Regions from separate parts of the Homo sapiens genome. Here region 1 is linked to region 2. Evidence: promoter capture Hi-C in 16 types of primary human blood cells and fetal thymus (Javierre and others, 2016). All regions are on one chromosome and are shown on one strand. Each heading gives the region's core, a stretch centred on a gene start or on the middle of the fragment in contact. The rest is flanking DNA. Distances are from core to core; before and after follow the strand shown.

Region 1 (6,805 bases), core at 4,051-6,550, 1.4 Mb after region 2:
CTCATTACGTGTACCACGATGTCTTGATTCCCTGAAGTGCCTAGTAAATTTTCTCTTTGTAGGACTATGAAATTAACCATGGGCAGTGGAGGGGGCGGGGGGGTTGGGAATGCCTGTGCCTTTTCCAAAAATTGGGGTTGCTTAGAGAAAATGATAATGTTTAGCATTTTTAGTGGTGCCTAAATGTGTGTAGAGAAACACCTATTTCAGGCCTCTCCAAAGACTTTGATTGTCTGAAAGCAGAAATATTTGCAGTTTGACTTTACTTGGTGTTTACAGTACACTTTCTGAGCACTTTATGGATATTTAATATTGTATGACATGATCAGCAATATCTTTTTTTCCAAATAAGTGGGTTTTTAAAAATATAATGGAATCAGAATGTGAATAACTTTTAAAATTATTTATTATGCAGAGAAAAATCTGAAGCCATGAATTTTAAATCTCATGTAAGTTAAATTTGGAAGTACACAGATTTGCCCAGAATCTGAATTTTATAAGCCTTAAAAACTTTGACATTTTAAAAATATTTGAGGAGTTTGTTATTACCATCTCTTAAATGCACACATTTTTTTCAGACTACTAGGGAAGAGAGTGGCTAAGCAGAGCATTGTTGACTGCCCCAGACATCCTCGACTGGTTTCTAAATCTGAAATAAACTTCTTAGTCATATGGTGATAAGCAGAATTCAGAACATGTCTCTTTTTTAATGCATGTGAAATAGAAAGTGATAGTCATCACAAAATGAAATTTGATTTATGATGTGTTGATGCATCGTCATACTAAGGCACGCTGAAAAATATTTTCAGTTTCCTAATAAAAACAAAGTGACCTCCCCATGAGTGATTCTCCTAATTGTTATTGTCAAATGCTTTTCTTTATGCTTTTTTTCTTGCTCACACTCAGATAATCTACAAACACTGTTTGAATCCTGTGTTTCACTTTCTTTTCTTATGAAAAGTTTTCAGTGAATATAGTCCCTGAGCGAATCCTTTCCAACAAAGTACTTAACTTTCTATGCACACAATTCAAAAGTCAATTAAATGTGCGTGATTCATTTATCACAAAGAGTACCACCTATACTCTGTGGAAAATTCTTTCTGTTCGAAAGAAGGTTCTTATTTCTAAGAATGAGCTCTGATTTTAATTAAATAAAGAGCATTTTATGCAATTTTTTTCTAAAGCTTAAGATTAATTTCTATGGTTACTAGGGATATAAATCTCTAGATTGCTTTAAAACAAAGATTTTTGTCCAGGAGAGAGTTGACAGCTCCCTATAAGAGAAGCTATTACTTAATTTTTCTTTCCTAAGTTTAAACACATAAAAATATTTGTAATGATACCCCAAAGGCATCATAAAAATGTAAAATAATTGTACTCTAAAATATCTAAAATTACAGGAAATAGACCTCATTTTAAAAAATGAACTGAGATTCATGGCTGGGTAACCGGAGTGTGACATACTTCAAAACCAGAATCTCTTGTCAGGATACTTTTAGTTTTTTAATGGCTAAAAAAAGAAGTCTTTTGTCAATCATAAAAACTTTAAAATATGTTCATTCTATTAGGAAATCTTACTTTTTAGTTTCATTACCTTTAACGTATATTACACTGTGGCTGCGCTAGATCCCTTTGAGAGGCACATTTCAGTCTTTAGAATTAGGTGGCATCACTAGGCTTGTGATCAACGATATCACAAGACAACCGTTAGACTGTTTTTAATGATTATTTTTTAAAAGTACATAGCCATTTTCTAAGCAGCTTTGAAAAAAGGCAGCATAAATCGTTTCCAGTGTCTTACTTACCCAAAGTATACTTCCTCTTTCGGTAGATGATGTTAACTGGTAAATTGTTCCCAGGTTAAAGGTTTGTCATATTTTAATAAATGTAGTGTAAAATCTATAGTAGAGACACTTCAAGGAAAAAACCCTCAACGTTTTCAGTAAATGAAATTAATATATATCCTTTTTCCTACGTTAGTATTATGGTATCATTTCTTTTGTTATTTTTATTTACTAAAACTTTAATTGAGCCTTATATAGTAAAATATCCTCATGTTTTTAGGAAAAGTGAAATTAGATTTATAAAATGTCCAGACTGAAGTTTTGAAAGAAATGGCATTTTGTATATAATATGGATGAATGCTGTTGAGGCTAGACGTGCTCGTAGTTTAAAACATGCCTGATCCGGGAATGCTTTGCATTAAATGAGTTTATATTTTGAGAGCAAAACAGGGAAAGAAAACACTTTCCTTCTTTTTTTTTTTTTAAGAGACAAGAAAATTAAGTTGAATGCGTATATTGAAAGTGCTATAAGCCGAATGTTTGAACAACAAAAGTAAACACTGATTATTACAAATGTACATTTGGACCACGTTGCTTTTATCTTTCAAGCAAAACATTTCCCACAGTTTTTGTGGGTTTTTATTTAAGTTGGGAAAACTTCGGAAGTTTGTGTGAAAGTATAAATAAGTTTGGAAATGTCATGATTAGAGTTTGATAATAAACATGCAAAAGCAAATGGGAAACTCTATTAAAGTCAGATGTAACATTAAATAATGTTTTCTCTAAAATGTATTTGCAGAGAGAAGAACAGTGATTTATGTGGATTTGAAACAAAGACTTTGGCTGTAATTTAAAATAAAGGTTAAATGTGAATTCTTCAGCCTGAACATGGATGAAGTTTTTTGTTTTTAAGAGCTTCCTTAGTGATTGTTATAGGAGCCTCTGTGCCCTTTTCCAATTATGGGCACAGAAATTATGCATGTATTTATAGATTCCATGTAAAAAAATTCTTAGTTTCCAATAAATTTTAAGCTGCATTTTACGAAGTAAGCATCTGTAGAGAACCTTTTGGAGAAAAAATAGGAGGGAAAACGTTTCAGTTTATGTAATTATTGAAATATACCACTGTATAGAGAATGAATAGAAATTTAAAACCGTAATCTGAAATTTGTTTTAAATCTCATTGTTATGAGATTGACCTCATAATTGCAAATCGGCATTTTGTGTTCAGTACAACTCCAATTCTTAAGGAAATTTGTCTGTTCTATTAGAGTAATACTGTAAGTTTAGGAAGATGCCCCTTTGGCTATTGTTACATATGGGCCCTTTTGAAAATAGTGGTCATGCTAATATTTGATCAGATAATGCTGACTAATGCTGTAGAGCTTTCGAAAGATTTCTTGAACATTGTCAAGTTTTACTTTCCTTTCTTAGGTACATGACTGTGTATCTCTTAAAAGTGTATATGTATTTGTGGGGGGCAGTTAGTGTTACATTTTTATTGTAAATTTATTACAGTTCGATATGTGATTTTGAGTGAAATTCATTGCAATATGAATGAAAATTTTTTGTATGTATGGTGTTTCAAATGCTTTACCTAATTAATTGTCTGAAAAACTGTTAAAGGGGATTTAAATTGCATATACTAGTTTTACATTTAAAGCTTTCACACTGAGCTGAATTCAGATACAGGACCTTAAATTTTTTGTCCAAAGAAAGTAAGAACTCATGTAGAATGAAAAGATATAATTTGAGTCTCAAAATCAAGATCTTTAATATACTGCTCAGGACCTAACTATTATTTTTCTAGTAGTTTTCACACATTTTTTTCCGGCAAATGTTATGTTACGGAGTGATTATTTTGTGTTACTTTGTACACTTAAGGAGCAATCCATTTTTAGCAGTTGAGCCCTCATTTTGTAAAACTAAGCTGTTGGCAATTTGCTAGTTTCTTTAAATTCTAGAAACCACTAAGTTTTACCTTTTCATTTATTTCCAAACAAAGAAGATGTTAGAAAGTTCTGTAACTTATCTCTTGAAATAATATTTTCTGGCCGGGTGTGGTGGCTCATGCCTATAATCCCAGCACTTTGGGAGGCTGAGGCAGGCAGATTGCTTGAGCCCAGGAGTCTGAGACCAGCCTGGGCAACATGGCAAGACCTCGTCTCTACCAAAAAAAAAAAAAAAAAAAAAAAAAAAAAAAAAAAAAATTATTTTGCATGTGTATTGAAGTGCTTTGAGTTTCTTGCCTTGTTCACTCCAAAGACGATCATAATGACTTTCCTCATTATAGGAAAAAGGAAAAAAGGGATCTGTATATTTTTGAGGACAGGGAATGATGAAGCAAGACCCTGGACTTTGCTTGGAATTTGGACATTTGTATTATTGGTCAAGGCCAGCATACTCTGCATTTTATTCCCATTCACTTAGTTGAAAGATGACTTTGGAGGCAAGGACATATATCTTGTTACCAAACCCTCTTTCTCAGAACTTTGAGATAAAATGAACATTCATTCCTTTGCTTTTGTTTTTGCTAAAAGAGAAAAAAAATCAGTTTGAGTAAAGCAAAAACATTTCTACTTTTGGGGTTTGAATGATAACAAAGCAGTTGAGATTAAATTATTGACATCTGACAAGCAGAATGGATGTTGAATGTATGTTCTTGCTATGGGCCGCTTGAAGTTGCTTTTGCTATTCTCTTTGCTGATGTGAAGCAGAAAATGAACAAGGTAACAGTTTTGATGGTGAGATTAGAGGTAGCCAGGCTGACTGTCTCCTGGCTCTTAGAGACCCTTATAAGCTCAGGGCCACCCCCTCCCCTTGTTTAGATATTACTTGCTCTTTTGAGTTTCAGATTACAGGAGCAATTGGTCTGCATGACCTATCTTAAGAACTTTAACTTTGCAGTAGAAACTTAAACCAAATGTATATCCTCAAGAGACAAATCATCTTAAAACTAGGCTGTTGTCATTTTGATGTACTGTACTGCTCACTGAGGAACAGTGTGGTGGAGAGCACCACCTAGTGGATGGGACCCATACTTGATGGGCTGTGTAGGAGATTTCGTCTACATTGATGTAACTCTTGCCCTTGTCTTGCAAATAAGTGATTTTTAATCGTCCTAGCACATATTTTTAAGTAGCGCTAGGACCCCAGGAGAATGAGATTGGGAGTAGTTGTGAGATATGTCGGTTTTCTTTGTAGTTTTCGCACTTCTATAGGTGTATGTACTGGTGCTTGACATCTCCACATTCTTATAAGCTGATATTATAATTCAAACAAAACTTTTTTTTTTAAATGTCAGTAGGGTAGTATTTAGTCTTTGGGAATTTTGTGTTTTTGAGTGCTTATGTTCAACCTCGGTAGTAAGAGACGGCTTTGGATAGAACCTGTTTGTTGCCACAAACTTTATACTATGCTGCTAATCTGTTCACCTCACGAGAGGAGGAGTTGCTGCTGATTATAAACTGTAGGTCATAAATTGTTACCTGCTTGTCATAGAGACTATATGCCTTTTGAGTGTACTAAAATATTTGCAAAAATTAGATGAAACAATTCCACATTTAAAAAAAAAACAACTTTTAACACATCATGACCACAAATTTTAGGTACAGCCATTCCTTGATATTTATTTTAGAATGTCAAATTCTTGATAAAATGTATCACCTCTTCGTTTGTTGAATGTTCCTAGACATTTGTTGAGCTAGGAACTATGCCAGGCTTTGGGAATCCAAAGTGAAGAAGACATAGTTCTTTTTGGACTTAGAATTTTTTAAAGTTTTAAAATTCTTCAACACAAAAAGAGTGAGCGTATTCCTGGGATGTGGGATGTATTATGTTGGGGTATAAATACATTTTTTTGCTTAATATTTTCTGACATTTAGCAAATGCTTTTGAAGAAACTGCTAAATAAAATTGATGGGTTTGTTTTCATGGGTTTGGCAGGGGGGAGGCGACAGAAGGCTGCAGGTAACACCTCTTTGGTTTCGTTCTTCACTGAGTTTTATCCTCGGAGAGCCCAAGTTTGGAGGCATAGAGTGAAGAATTTAAGAGCACAGGCTTAGAGTCTATTCCAGAGTATGGACCCTGGCTTTTCAACTTGCCAGGTGTGTGCCTTTGGGCAAGTGTACTCATCTGTTTTCTCATTTGTTGTGAGGATTCAATGAGATAGTCTATACAATGGGTTTAACATGGTGTCCGACACATAGGAAACACTAAATGTTCAATATGATTTATTATGATGATGATTTGGAAGTTTATTATGATGATGATTTGGATGATTCAGTGTAGGTGGTTCTCATGGTGCACTCAGTCTCCCCACCACCTGCAGGCCCCAGATCCCTGCTTAGTGTGACCATGCAGACAAACCCCCACTGATGGCCAGCAGATGTCTGCGGGTGCTGAGCTAGAAAGTTCAAAGTTCTTCCTTATGCAGATGATGTTTACAGAAAGAGTGTACCCTCGTGTGTCTCGTGTGTGTGTGTGTGTTGAACAGTGTTTACAATCAGAGGCACTTAACCTGAGCTCCATGAACCAAAAGCCTCTGAAGCTCAAAATGACAGGCAGAAAGTTTTTTGTTTTTGTGTATATGTTTATTTCTTTTATAGAAGAGATCAGATTCATAGCTTTTGTCAGTATCTCAAAGGCATCTGTGCCCCTAAAAAGGTCAAGAACTATACTTTAGATGTTCGTGACTCTGTGTAAGGCCACTGGAGAAATTTAAAATATAGTCCCCTCTTAGAAAGTGAAACTCAAATATGAATTTTGCACTATTTGTTTTTGAAGATATGTAAATAATTTTAAAGATAGAGTTGATATTTTGAGGAACTCAAATATGAGTAAAATGTTTTTTCCTCTCGCCCCTCTTGTCAAGGTTCTGAAGAATTTTAAGAGCAAGGAAAAGTTAAGAATACAGGCTATGGAGTAGACCTAATTTCAAATACAGCTCCGACACTTCCTAATGAGTCCTCAAGCCAGTTAACTTGGCCTCTCTTCTCTGTAAAAGAGGAATCCTAGGGGTA
Region 2 (6,755 bases), core at 3,174-5,673:
CTTGATTTTTGGTGGGGAATAAATGCTTTTCTTGGTACTCAAATCCACTTTGCACAAATAATTAAATGATTTCCTTTATAATCATGTAGTGATTTCTGATTGCTGCTTTGACAGATGACCATGAACCCATTGCCTTAGAACAACTCACATTCATTATCTTGTAGTTCTGAAAGTCAGAGTCCCTGGGCTACAACCGAGATGTTGGCAGGGCTGCCTTCCTTCTGGAGGCTCCAGGGAGAAAGTGTTTCCTTGCCTTTTCTGGCTCCTGGAGTTGCCCACATTCTTTGGCTTGTGGCCCCTTCCTTCCTCTTCAAATCTCTCTCACTCTGACCTCTGCTTCTGTTCTCTGATCTCCCGTTCTCAGACTCCGACTTTCCTGCCTCTCTCTCACTTAAAAGGACTCTTGTGATGACACTGGCTCCACCAGGTGATCCAGGATCATCTCCACATCTTAAGATCTGTAAGCAGAGCCACAGAGTCCCATTTGCCATGTGGAGTAACATGGGCAGTAGTTCTAGGGATTCAGGTGTGGGCATCTTTGAGCATCATTATTCTGCCCACCACAGTCCCATATGTACTAATTTGGAGGCCACAGAAAAAAGCAGACATTTAAAAATCAAATGAGCCTGGATTTGAACTGCATCTCTGTCACTTGCTGGCCATGTAACCGAACATGTTTACTTGTTTAACTTCTCTGAACATCTTTTCTTATATCTGAGATGAGGACAATAATCCATTACTATATACCTGATGATAAACTACAATCCCCTTTCCTTCATTTTTTGAAAACATTCTTTTTGCAATGAATGAACGAATTTTTTTTTTTTTTTTGGTTTGCCGAAACAAAATCCACATCGGACCTGAACTGGCCTCTTGTCCTCTCCCATCTGACGTGTCCCTTTCTGTTCTCTGCCATCACCCAGGAAGAAGGTTTCATGTCTGACATGATGAGCTCAAGGTTTGTCCTTCACCAAATGTAGTGCTGTAATTCACTTATAAGAACTCCTTCCCAGGAGGACTAGGAGCAGTTGGAGGATGGGTTGGGGGATGGGGGAGGTCACAGCTGTCGTCAGGATGGGGGCAGTTATCTCAGGCTTCCCCTGCTGCCTCTGTTGGTCCCTGGCAAATATTGCTCCTTTCTGTCTCCGTGCAAGCTGGAGGGTGCATTTCCAACTTTATACCCTGGGTTTTGTTTCCTTCCTCCCTTTCTCTGTTGCGCTTGGGTTACTGACCTTGAGATGAGATGGTGTGGAAAAAACTCAGACAAACCTGAGTTGAAATCCCAGGTTAGTCACTTCCCGGTGGTTAACCTGAGCAATGGGCTTAAGGTTTGTCATCCTCAGCGCTCCAGCCTGAAGATGGAAGTGGCCTGGTTCGCCACGTGGGGCTGCCTGAGGGAGCCAGCAGTGTATAAGGCAGAGCATGATGCACGGAAATGAACTGTGTGTGCAAGGACCCTTATACACAGTATGCAGTTTCAGGAGGGTCCGATCGCCTCCTCTGCATGGGGAGAAAAGAGTGAGAGGAAGTGATATAAAGTCAGTGACACGCAGTGGGCGCCACAAAGGTGTGTTAGATGAATGTCGAATGATTAGTTGCCCAAGACTGCATGCAAAACAGGATTCTAACTCAACCACCTAGACTCTTCTGCCTAAACTAGGTCCCTTTATCTCTTATCTCCCAGTGGGACCACCTCAGTCAGGCTCTTGGGGAGAGGAAAGGGTAGTTGTTTCGATGTGGACTCTGGCACCAGACTACTCTGTTTAAACCTCGAAGTCTTACTTGCCAGCTGTGACCCTGGACAGGTTATTTATGTCTCTGAACCTCAGTTTTCTCATCTGTAAAATGAGGCTAAAATGGCAGTTTCAAGGTTGCTGCGAGGCATAAAAGAGTTACTATCTGTTAGGTGCTTACCATGGTCCGGGCACGTAGTAAACTTTCTATAAGCAGAAGCTATGAAGATCCTTTCCTGCTTCTGCATAAAGACAGCACTTTCTCAGCTCCTTCCTTGCGTCACTCCCTCTAGTCTTGGCAACTGCCCAGCCCTTTCTCACAATGGAAAGGGTTTTCTTTAGAAGCAGTAAGATTTCCATCACCACCAACAAAGCCTGAGAGACTGTGTCCTCAAGATGTTGAGAGCAGATTCAAGCATGCAGTAGGAGGCCTGGCCTCCAAAGTTCCACCTAACTCAGACTTTTGAGTTTTCTGATATTTCTCTGGGTTATGTCACCCTGAACATTTGTGGGGTTTTAGAAGAAATTTCTATGTGGTTTTCGACATGAATTGTTCTTGCCTGGAATGGGCTGGGAATAGTATTTCACAGGACAGAGAAAAATTTTCATTGAAAAATCGAAAACACTTGCAAGATAGCCTGGAGGCTGATGGGCCTCAAGAGGAGTGTCTGTGGCAAATCTGCACAGTGGACCCAGGGACACAAGGAGAGAGGAGCCAGGATGCAGCTGCGGTGGGTGGAAGGTAGATGGAGGCTGTGTGTGGAACTTTCTGTTCTCGCATTCAGCACTCTCTCCCCCATGAGAGTAAACACTTGTTGAAGACAGAGACTTAGAAATACTCATCTGTGTCCCCACACTAGCCTCTCTCTCAAGCACAGAAAAATAACTTGCTAAATGCCCACCGAGTGGATGAGCCCACGCTCTAGGCCTGGCTGAACCTCCTTGAGATTGAGGCCCTGAGGGAGCCATTTCACATCTCCCCTCCTGTTTCCTCTTCCAAGAGGGGGCCGGTAAAAATACCTACCTGCTGCACAGACCCCTTGTTGCAGGGTTGAAAGACAGTAGCTTCAGGGAGGTGTCAGCTGAGGCCACGGATCCGACGGCCCCAGGATCCTCAGTCCATGGGGCCCAAGAGTCATAAAACAAGAACATGAATCCATCTGTCTGTCTGGTATTCCTGGAGCTTGGTCACGCTGCGGGAGCTCTGGCTTGCAGCTGGCAGGGCCCGGGGTTGAAGGGACAGCTCCCAGCATGGAAGGCTATGGGTGGGGGGACATTGCAAGAAGCACTGATGCTCCCCTCTGCAGTCCCCACCCAGTCCTGACTTTGCTTGTCTAGACTGGCTCGAGGAGGGGGTCGGCAGCTGGCGATTCTGCCTCTCCAGGAAGTGCAGCTGGGACTGTAGGGTCCCCAGGGACTTGCAGGATCCTCTGCCTGATAATCGTGGAGAAATAAGGGAAGGTGTCTATAGGAGGCAGGTGGTGCCTGGCCTTAGAGGAGAGCCCCAGCAGAGCGACCTCCACGACAGAGAAACCCCAGAACGCCCAGACTGCAAGCTCCAGGAGCAACAAAAGTGGACTGTGCCCCTCGAATGAGGGAATATCTGTCTGTCTGGTTGACTGCCAGCTGTGTGTGTGTGGTCATCTCTGTCTCTGTGTGTCTTTCTCTGGAGCGTTTTTATTTAAGCTTTTGACTTCCTTTATTACTGGTGTGGACTTGTGTGTGGGCATCCTGTTGCCAGTTTATGATGCACATGTGTGGAATCGCCCTGAGCTTGCCTTTGATATTGGTGTGTTGTGTGGTGTCATTGGCGTGCACGTGTATGTGTGTGTCGCTGATTCTCATGCAAGAATGTGCTTCTCTTATGTGTCTGTCGGAGTGTGCCTCTAGCATGTCCCTCTTGGCTGCTGCACCACCTTTCCTGGCCCTTACCACCTCTTGGCCCACCATATGGGTGCTTTTGTATCCAATTCCCCTCCTTAGCAGGTCAGCTCCTGGAGGGCAGGCACTTGGTCTCTTTTGTCCATGGCTCTGTTCCCAGCTCCTACAACAGTGCTAGGCACTAGTGGGCGCTCAGCAAAATAAAACTGACGGAATGAACGGTGTGTCCAACGCATGTGCCTCTCCAGTTGTGCAATTAATCTTGGTGTGATACTGTGTGTGAGTGGGGTTGTGAGACAATGAGGATTTCTGTTGTGTGTTTGTAATGAACTCGGAATGTGCACAAGCATATATGTGTATGTGTGTGCAACATTGAGTATGGTGTGCATGATCGAGCCCCTGTGTATCTCTGGAGAGCATGTGTGATTGACTCTCGTGTGTGTGCCAGCATGTCTGTGCATCTCTCATGTGTTTGGCGTAATTGTCTGGTGTGCAGGTATGAACCCGCGTGTGCCTCCAGAGCGTGTGGGCGCGCGAGTGTACGCACACGGCTCCTGCCCCGCGCTCTCCTCGCGCCCTGCGCTCCGCCTGGGGGCGGAGAGTGGGGGGTGCGGCGAGGGCACTGCGGTGCCGCGGCCCGCCCTCCGCGCTGCGGCTCGGGAGCGTCACCGTCCCTCCCCGCCCCAGCCGCGATCCCCGCCTCCTGGTCCTTTGTAGCTGGCCGCGCCGCTAGCCCGCAGCCGCCCAGAGGCCCCGCCCCGGCCCCGCCCCGGCGCGCGCCACGCCCCGCCCCTCCCCTCCCTGGGCCGCAGTCGCGCCCGGGCCGCCGCAGGCCCGCACCGAGGCGCGGAGCGCGGCGCACGGCGGTGCCCAGGGCCGCGGGCGGGCAGGCGGGAGCGCGGTGGGTGGCCGGCCTTGGACGGGTATGGCGGACCGGCGGCGCGCGTGGAACACCGAGGACGACCTGCCCGTGTACCTGGCGCGGCCGGGCAGCGCGGCGCAGACCCCGCGCCAGAAGTACGGCGGCATGTTCGCCGCGGTGGAGGGCGCCTACGAGAACAAGACCATCGACTTCGACGCCTACAGTGTGGGCCGCCGCGGCTCGGCGCGCACGCCGCGCAGCGCTGGCCGGCCCGACGCGGTCGGGCTGCCAGGGCCGGGAGGCAGCGAGGACACGGCCAGCGACGTGAGCGAGCCCTCGGGCTCCGCGGTCAGCTCTCCCGGAGAGCGCGACGAGCGGCCGCCGACGCTGCGCATCCGCCGCCCCGCGCCCCGCGACCTGCCCCTCGGCCGGGACAATGGCCAGGTACCCTCGGGGCGCGCGCGGGCCAGACGAGGGGGGCGGGCCCCGGGAGGACCCAGGGCATGGGGCGCCCGAGGGCCATGCCCGGGCCCCGGTGTTGGGGCAGCGGCCGCCAGGCTGGGGAGAGCCACGGCGCGGCCCCTCCCCCACCTCATCATGCAAGAGGTTCCCAGAGCTGGGGCGACTCGGTCGGGGCTGGCCGGCGTGGTCCGTGAGACTCGGAAGGGATCGCCCGGGTCCAGTCCCGGCTCCTCTTCTACAGAAAGGGAGAGAGGTTCTGAGAGGGGAAGTTGGCTAAAGCTACCGCATGGACGCTTAAACGCGAAGGAACCTCTGGGATGAATCTAACCCAGGCCCCTCATTCTGTTTTGTGAAAAGAACTGGAGCTCCGTTCCGTGTTGGTCCATTCATCCATCCACTCAGTCGGTAGTAATTATAGAGCACCTACTGTGTGCCGGGCCCCGGGAGAGGTTCCGCGAGTCGCCTGCGGCCACACAGCTTAAAGCTGGAAGGAGCTTTTTTTCCGAGCGCTCCCCTCATGCTTGCTGGGGGGAAGGATTTGGTTAAGGATTTAGTTCGTCGGGCAGTTGGAGCCGTAAACCCCTACCCTCAAGCGCCAGTAGATTCAAGGGGCACTCCTGAGCTCCACAGCACACACCGATGTGCCTGCTTCACAGAGCAAGGTGGAGGTAGAGCTGGGATTTGAACTGGGGTCTCTGGCCTCCCGGACCTGAGCATGGGGCCGGGAGGATCAGGGAGAGGGAACGCTAGGGCTTGGGCCCTGCGGGTATTCTCTCTTGAGCTGGGGGTCACCAGGAAACTGGGGGAAGAAGGGCGGATGGACGGCGTAGCCTTTGGATGGACCGACGAGAGCCAGGGTCAGGTGCCAGAAAAACGGAAGTTGGAGCATCCGAGGGCTGGGGAGCTTTCGAATTGGTCCAGACCTGGATGCCGGAGAACTGCTAGGTGCCAGGCCCAGGGTAGGCGCTAGGTCCCTGGCTCAGCAACCTGGCCCCACCCTCCAGAAGTTCCCAGGCTAGGGTGAGCGACGGATTCATTGTGAGAATTAAATCAGTTAATGCCGGTCGGTAGTGAGCATTCAATAAATGTTTGTTGTTGACTTTTATTACAATCATTATCATTTTAATTAAACCTTCCCCTCTTAAATGCTATGAGTGACCCAAAGTGAGCCTGGAGGGAAGCAGAGCTTGATCGGGGCAGATATCTGGGAGGGCTTCCTGGAGGAATAGGAGCAGGGAACTGGTAAACACGGTGGTGGGCCTCTTCGGGCCCCATCCCTTCGCGGGCGGGCTGTTGCTCCAGAGCTCTCCGTGGTCCTGAAGCCGGAGCCTCGCGAGGGAGAGGTCCAACAGCAAGGGTGTGTGTGTGTGTGTGTGTGTGTGTGTGTGTGTGTGTATGTGTGTGTGGTGGTGGGGTGATCAGAAAGGGAGATGGTGCGAGAGTCCAGCTTCCTCTTCCCCCACCCCTTCTGTATCTCCCCCTGTCCACTACCTTCCCTGGTGGTCCGACCTCTCTTGGGATCCAAACTCCCGAGCCCGATGGGGAGGCTTCTGGGCCGCGGGCCGAGAAGCGGGACCAGCACCAGGGAATCCGGGTTTCCAGCCAAGGCGCTTTGCTCTCTTGGGCCTCAGCTTCTCCATCTGTCAGATGGGGGTGGCCGTCTTCTTCCGGCCTTCCTCAAAGCGTGGTGGAGTACTAGGGAGGCGAGGGCGCTTTGTGCACGGCCCGTAGCTGTCCCAAGGAGAGTTCCTCTGGAACTGCGGTCAATGTCACCAACGCCAGCATCTCCCCCAGGGCGCAGCCTGGGCCAGCCCCGC

The links. Contacts are between HindIII fragments. The CHiCAGO score rates a contact against its expected background, and 5 or more counts as called.
Region 1: a fragment that was not itself captured here is called in contact with the fragment with the promoter of CRMP1 in region 2 in 1 of 17 cell types (total B cells); the score reaches 5.4 in total B cells.

Annotation. Positions count from the first base shown.
Region 1 is chr4:4,486,581-4,493,385 of GRCh38, reverse strand. The region is part of intron 1 of STX18 (syntaxin 18); the gene reads left to right. Among named protein-coding and RNA genes, the nearest start is that of STX18-IT1, 8.3 kb to the right of the region's middle. RefSeq lists an enhancer at 3,086-3,265 and a silencer at 4,773-4,892. The HindIII fragment of the contact is 3,702 bases long and covers 3,450-6,805 here.
Region 2 is chr4:5,890,754-5,897,508 of GRCh38, reverse strand. It overlaps CRMP1 (collapsin response mediator protein 1), which reads left to right and starts at 4,423. Exons shown (of 14, transcript NM_001014809.3): 1 at 4,423-4,920. The coding sequence starts at 4,540. RefSeq lists enhancers at 5,818-6,561, 6,562-6,755. The HindIII fragment of the contact is 9,333 bases long and covers 3,422-6,755 here.